Regions from separate parts of the Homo sapiens genome. Here region 2 is linked to region 1. The links are contacts of gene promoters, found by promoter capture Hi-C in blood cells and fetal thymus (Javierre and others, 2016). All regions are on one chromosome and are shown on one strand. Each heading gives the region's core, a stretch centred on a gene start or on the middle of the fragment in contact. The rest is flanking DNA. Distances are from core to core; before and after follow the strand shown. Region 1 holds the start of PABPC3 (poly(A) binding protein cytoplasmic 3). Region 2 holds the start of RNF17 (ring finger protein 17).

The links. Contacts are between HindIII fragments. The CHiCAGO score rates a contact against its expected background, and 5 or more counts as called.
Region 2: the fragment with the promoter of RNF17 here is called in contact with the fragment with the promoter of PABPC3 in region 1 in 6 of 17 cell types (erythroblasts, M0 macrophages, M1 macrophages and 3 more); the score reaches 7.6 in erythroblasts.

What each region holds. Positions count from the first base shown.
Region 1 is chr13:25,094,739-25,097,470 of GRCh38, forward strand. PABPC3 (poly(A) binding protein cytoplasmic 3) reads left to right here and starts at 1,398. Exons shown (of 1, transcript NM_030979.3): 1 at 1,398-2,732. The coding sequence starts at 1,461. It overlaps LOC124900613 (a long non-coding RNA gene), which reads left to right and starts at 882. Exons shown (of 3, transcript XR_941762.3): 1 at 882-921. RefSeq lists a silencer at 1,313-1,607. The HindIII fragment of the contact is 7,788 bases long and covers 1-2,168 here.
Region 2 is chr13:24,762,619-24,765,618 of GRCh38, forward strand. RNF17 (ring finger protein 17) reads left to right here and starts at 1,551. Exons shown (of 36, transcript NM_031277.3): 1 at 1,551-1,715. The coding sequence starts at 1,586. The HindIII fragment of the contact is 5,895 bases long and covers 302-3,000 here.

The DNA of each region.
Region 1 (2,732 bases), core at 148-2,647:
CTATTCGGGAGGCTGAGGCGCTAGAATCCCTTGAACCCGGGAGGTGGAGGTTGCGGTGAACCAAGATCGCACCACTGCACTACAGCCTGGGTGACAGAACGAGACTCTATCTAAACAAACAAACAAACAAAAAACCCTAAAATAAATTATTTGTAACATGAACAGAATGAACAGATCCTCCCCCAAACTGATATTTTTTGTGGGACTGGACCTTTCTTAAAGGATTTTCTTAAATAGAATTATTTCAGATCATCACTTACTTAGATGTGTAGCTATATTAGGTCACAAGATTGTGTACTTATAATCATAAAACGTATACTTAATAATGAATCCCAACCTGACCTCAAAAGACTATATCATATAATACTATATTAACATTACATATTTATTGGTCGGGCACGGTGGCTTACGCCTGTAATCCCAGCACTTTGGGAGGCCGAGGTGGGTGGATCACGAGGTCAGGAGTTCAAGATCAGCCTGGCCAAGATGGTGAAACCCCGTCTCTACTAAAAATACAAAAAATTAGCCAGGCTTGGTGGTGGGTGCCTGTAATCCCAGCTACTTTAGAAGCTGAGGCAGGAGAATCGCTTGAACCTGGGAGGTGGAGGTTGCAGTGAGCCGAGATCGCACCACTGCACTCCAGCCTGGGTGACAGAGCAAAACTCCGTCTCAAAAATAAATAAGTAAAATAAAAATAAATAAATGAAAAATAAAATTACATATTTATTATGTTTTATATTGTTATATAATATAAAAAGTCGGTTTTTCGGGGTTTTTTGTTTGTTTGTTTGTTTGTTTGAGATAGTCTCGCTCTGTCACCCAGACTAGAGGGCAGTGGCGCGATCTCTGCTCACTGCAACCTCCACCTCCCGGGTTCAAGCGATTCTCGTGCCTAGGCCTCCCGAGTAGCTGGGATTACAGGTGAGCACATCAAGCCCAGCTAATTTTTTGTAATTTTAGTAGAGACGAGGTAAAAAGTAGAAAATATTTTATAAAAATATATTTGTGTAAAGTAGAACATATATAAAAACATACTAAAGGAGAAAGGAGAAAAAAATTCTTTCATTTATTTTTTTCCCAGGCATTTTAAATTTGGATTATAAAAATCATTTTAGAAAAATCATTAATGCTCTTTTACAAAATAACCCGGTGAAGCAGCTGAGCCCGAGCCGCCCGCCAGCGGCCCCGCAGCAGCTCCAAGAAGGAACTAAGAGACCAAGGCCTTCCTGCTGCCCGGACCCGACACCGCTACCCTGGCTCCCCGCCGGCAGCCGGCAGCCAGCGGCAGCGGATCGACCCCGTTCTGCGGCCGTTGAGTAGTTTTCGATTTCGGCTGATTTTTGTCCCTCTGCGCTTGCCCCCGCTCCCCTCCCTCCGGCTACGCCCCCGGCCCCGGCACGCGCTCTACTCCTGTAACGGAAAGGTCGCGGCTTGTGTGCCTGCGGGCAGCCGTGCCGAGAATGAACCCCAGCACCCCCAGCTACCCAACGGCCTCGCTCTACGTGGGGGACCTCCACCCCGACGTGACTGAGGCGATGCTCTACGAGAAGTTCAGCCCGGCAGGGCCCATCCTCTCCATCCGGATCTGCAGGGACTTGATCACCAGCGGCTCCTCCAACTACGCGTATGTGAACTTCCAGCATACGAAGGACGCGGAGCATGCTCTGGACACCATGAATTTTGATGTTATAAAGGGCAAGCCAGTACGCATCATGTGGTCTCAGCGTGATCCATCACTTCGAAAAAGTGGAGTGGGCAACATATTCGTTAAAAATCTGGATAAGTCCATTAATAATAAAGCACTGTATGATACAGTTTCTGCTTTTGGTAACATCCTTTCGTGTAACGTGGTTTGTGATGAAAATGGTTCCAAGGGTTATGGATTTGTACACTTTGAGACACACGAAGCAGCTGAAAGAGCTATTAAAAAAATGAACGGAATGCTCCTAAATGGTCGCAAAGTATTTGTTGGACAATTTAAGTCTCGTAAAGAACGAGAAGCTGAACTTGGAGCTAGGGCAAAAGAGTTCCCCAATGTTTACATCAAGAATTTTGGAGAAGACATGGATGATGAGCGCCTTAAGGATCTCTTTGGCAAGTTCGGGCCCGCCTTAAGTGTGAAAGTAATGACCGATGAAAGTGGAAAATCCAAAGGATTTGGATTTGTAAGCTTTGAAAGGCATGAAGATGCACAGAAAGCTGTAGATGAGATGAATGGAAAGGAGCTCAATGGAAAACAAATTTACGTTGGTCGAGCTCAGAAAAAAGTGGAACGGCAGACGGAACTTAAGCGCACATTTGAACAGATGAAGCAAGATAGGATCACCAGATACCAGGTTGTTAATCTTTATGTGAAAAATCTTGATGATGGTATTGATGATGAACGTCTCCGGAAAGCGTTTTCTCCATTTGGTACAATCACTAGTGCAAAGGTTATGATGGAAGGTGGTCGCAGCAAAGGGTTTGGTTTTGTATGTTTCTCCTCCCCAGAAGAAGCCACTAAAGCAGTTACAGAAATGAACGGTAGAATTGTGGCCACAAAGCCATTGTATGTAGCTTTAGCTCAGCGCAAAGAAGAGCGCCAGGCTTACCTCACTAACGAGTATATGCAGAGAATGGCAAGTGTACGAGCTGTGCCCAACCAGCGAGCACCTCCTTCAGGTTACTTCATGACAGCTGTCCCACAGACTCAGAACCATGCTGCATACTATCCTCCTAGCCAAATTGCTCGA
Region 2 (3,000 bases), core at 301-2,800, 330 kb before region 1:
TTTTGAGCCGAAGTGAGCCTTTCAAGAGAATACTTACTTCACAGTTTCTAGTTACCCACACACAGTGTAGAGAGAAAAGAAAATGAGGAATATGGGCAGGCTTTATTCTTAGCAGCAAAAGGCAACCGTGCCACCTCCAGGTGTTTTGTTTGAAATACACCTGCCACCTTTCTACTAGATTACTTCATTCCTTGCTCACAAAACGTCTCATGCACTCTACTGCTTAAAGAGTAAAGTCCAAACTCCTCAGCCTTACACTCGAGATTCTCCGAAATTCTTCCCTGACACACCTCTCCAAAGAAGCTTACTTTAAGGAAACTCATACTCTGGCTAAATGGTCTTTAAATTCTCAAGAAGTCACTGTGTCTTCCATCTACCTTCCCTCACATCTACCTTCCCTCGCTGATGTGTTCTTTATTCTTGGAATCCCTTAGTTCTTGTTTACTCCTGTAAGTACTACCTAGGTTGTAAGGTCTAGTGCAAACCCTATATCCTCTACGAAGAGTTTTCATACCACCGTAGACCATATTGACTTCATTTCTTCATTGCTTTTTGTGAACTATGCTTGGACAAGTTGCTTCAACTCTTTTTTTTTTTTTTTTGAGACGCAGTCTCGCTCTGTCGCCCAGACTGGAGTGCAGTGGTATGATCTCGGCTCACTGCAAGCTCCGCCTCCCAGGTTCACGCCATTCTCCTGCCTCAGCCTCCCAAGTAGCTGGAACTACAGGCGCCCACCGCCACGTCCGGCTAATTTTTTTTTTTTTTTTTTTTTGTATTTTTAGTAGAGACAGGGTTTCACCATGTTAGCCAGGATGGTCTCGATCTCCTGACCTCGTGATCTGCCCGCCCTGGCCTCCCAAAGTGCTGGCATTACAGGCGTGAGCCACCGCGCCGGGCCCAGAAGGCTAATTCTTACTGTCTCTAACACAGGTCCGGTACATAACACTTATTTTGGCGGAAGTTACTGGGTTTTTTTAAGGAGTTATGTATCTCTCAAGCAGAAACCTGCTAGTTCATAAATTCTTAGCATCCCCAACCACTCTTGGCACGCTGCCTTGTATATTATTAGGCTCAACAGCAGTTAGTAATGATGAACACTCCTTAATTCGAAAGCGTTCACTGAATCTACCCCAACGATAGCTTCTCATTAGCTTCTCCACTCCAGCTGCTATTGGCCAAGCCCTGGATGCCCGAAGCACACAGGTTTAGGGCTTCTGGCCCTGACACGTAATAGGGAAAGGGGATTGTTTCAATCCAAATGATTATCTATAAAGTCACTCACAATGTAAGTAATAATATGCGAAATTTTAATTTGTGATGACTAAAAGCACTAAAGTGGTGACTCTTTGGGTAGAACGTAAAAACGAACGGTCCTCAACGGCCACAAGGCGCCCCTTCTAGGAGTGGTACCTCCCAGGATAACGGAAAACAGCCCCAGCCCCATCAGGAGCGAGCTTGGGGGCGGGCTTTAATCTCCCGGCCCACTGTTTGGCTATCTGCAGGGGCTGGCCTCCAATGATTGGTCGCTGCCGCGAGGGCCGCCGGGACTCGCACTCGGCGGTTGTTCCAGAAGAAAGAGACAGCGATGGCGGCAGAGGCTTCGAAGACTGGGCCTTCTAGGTCTTCCTACCAGCGAATGGGGAGGAAGAGTCAGCCCTGGGGTGCCGCTGAAATCCAGTGCACCAGGTGTGGAAGGAGGGTATCCAGATCATCCGGTGAGGAGCCCAAGGGCCCACCTAGCGGGGAGGCAGCCTGGAGGGAGCGCTGGGGGCCAGGTGAGCTGGTGGGCGCGTGAGGCTTGGTCAGCTGCATCCAATCCTGGTGTCACCAGAAACTGCGTCACAGGCCTCCCGCGAGCTGCACCCGACCTCTAAGAGGGCAGTGCTTGGGTTGGTTAAGGGCAGCACCTGCGCCTGTCACGGCTTTCTCCAATTACCCATCCAGGCCTCACCGACCCTCCAGCCGGGAGGATGGGGGCCCGGGTGGCTTTAATCTACTCCTCACAAGGCAGGTTAGCGGGTGCATGCAAAAGTAGACATAAAATGTAGCCCATTGTTTTGTCATCAAGAAGGAACGAAACTTGATTTTCTCCTGTAGTTTTTGTTGTAGGAGTAACAAGTAGACCATTGTGAAATGGTTTTGGATTTTGTTGTTGTTGTTAGCATTTTGTTGTTTCTGTGGGGGTTTTTTTGTTTGTTTTTTACATTATGGCTCACACTGGCCTAAAACACTGTTTGGAAAATGATAGTTTCTTTTGTGCACCTTGTGGGGTGTGTGTGTGTGTGTGTGTGTGTGTGTGTGTGTGTTGGTCTTTATACGTGAGGGGAAAAATACACTGCACTATTATTGGTCTGTTCACCTACAATCTACTCAAGTGATCACAGGTTCAAGTTATTTATTATTATTTTTTTCTTTGAGTTGGAGTCTCGCTCTGTAGCCCAGGCTGGAGTGCAGTGGCGCGATCTCGGCTCACTGCAAGCTCCGCCTCCCAGGTTCACGCCATTCTCCTGTCTCAGCCTCTGGAGTAGCTGGGACTACAGGCGCCCGCCACCACGCCCGGCTAATTTTTTGTATATTTAGTAGAGACAGGGTTTCACCGTGTTAGCCAGGATGGTCTCGATCTCCTGACCTCGTGATCCGCCCGTCTTGGCCTCCCAAAGTGCTGGGATTACAGGCGTGAGCCACCGCGCCCGGCCGGTTCAAGTTATTTTAATGTAACTTAAAATACCTTAGTGTGCTCTTAATACAGCTGAGTTGTTGAATCTCAATTCCTGGAGCTACTGAAAATTCGTATTACCTGGCGTAACTGTTTAATGTTTATACTTTCAAAGTTAAGGTCATTCGATCAGTTTTCTCAGTCTTGGCAAGATGGACTCTGTGAGATGTGAGCCTCTGCAGAAAAAGTTGTGATTTCAGTGGAGAACCAAGTTTCTCCTACTTGGGGTTTAGATCACTGCTACCGTTACGTAGAAAATTTCCATTTTTGAATGAAATTAAAAT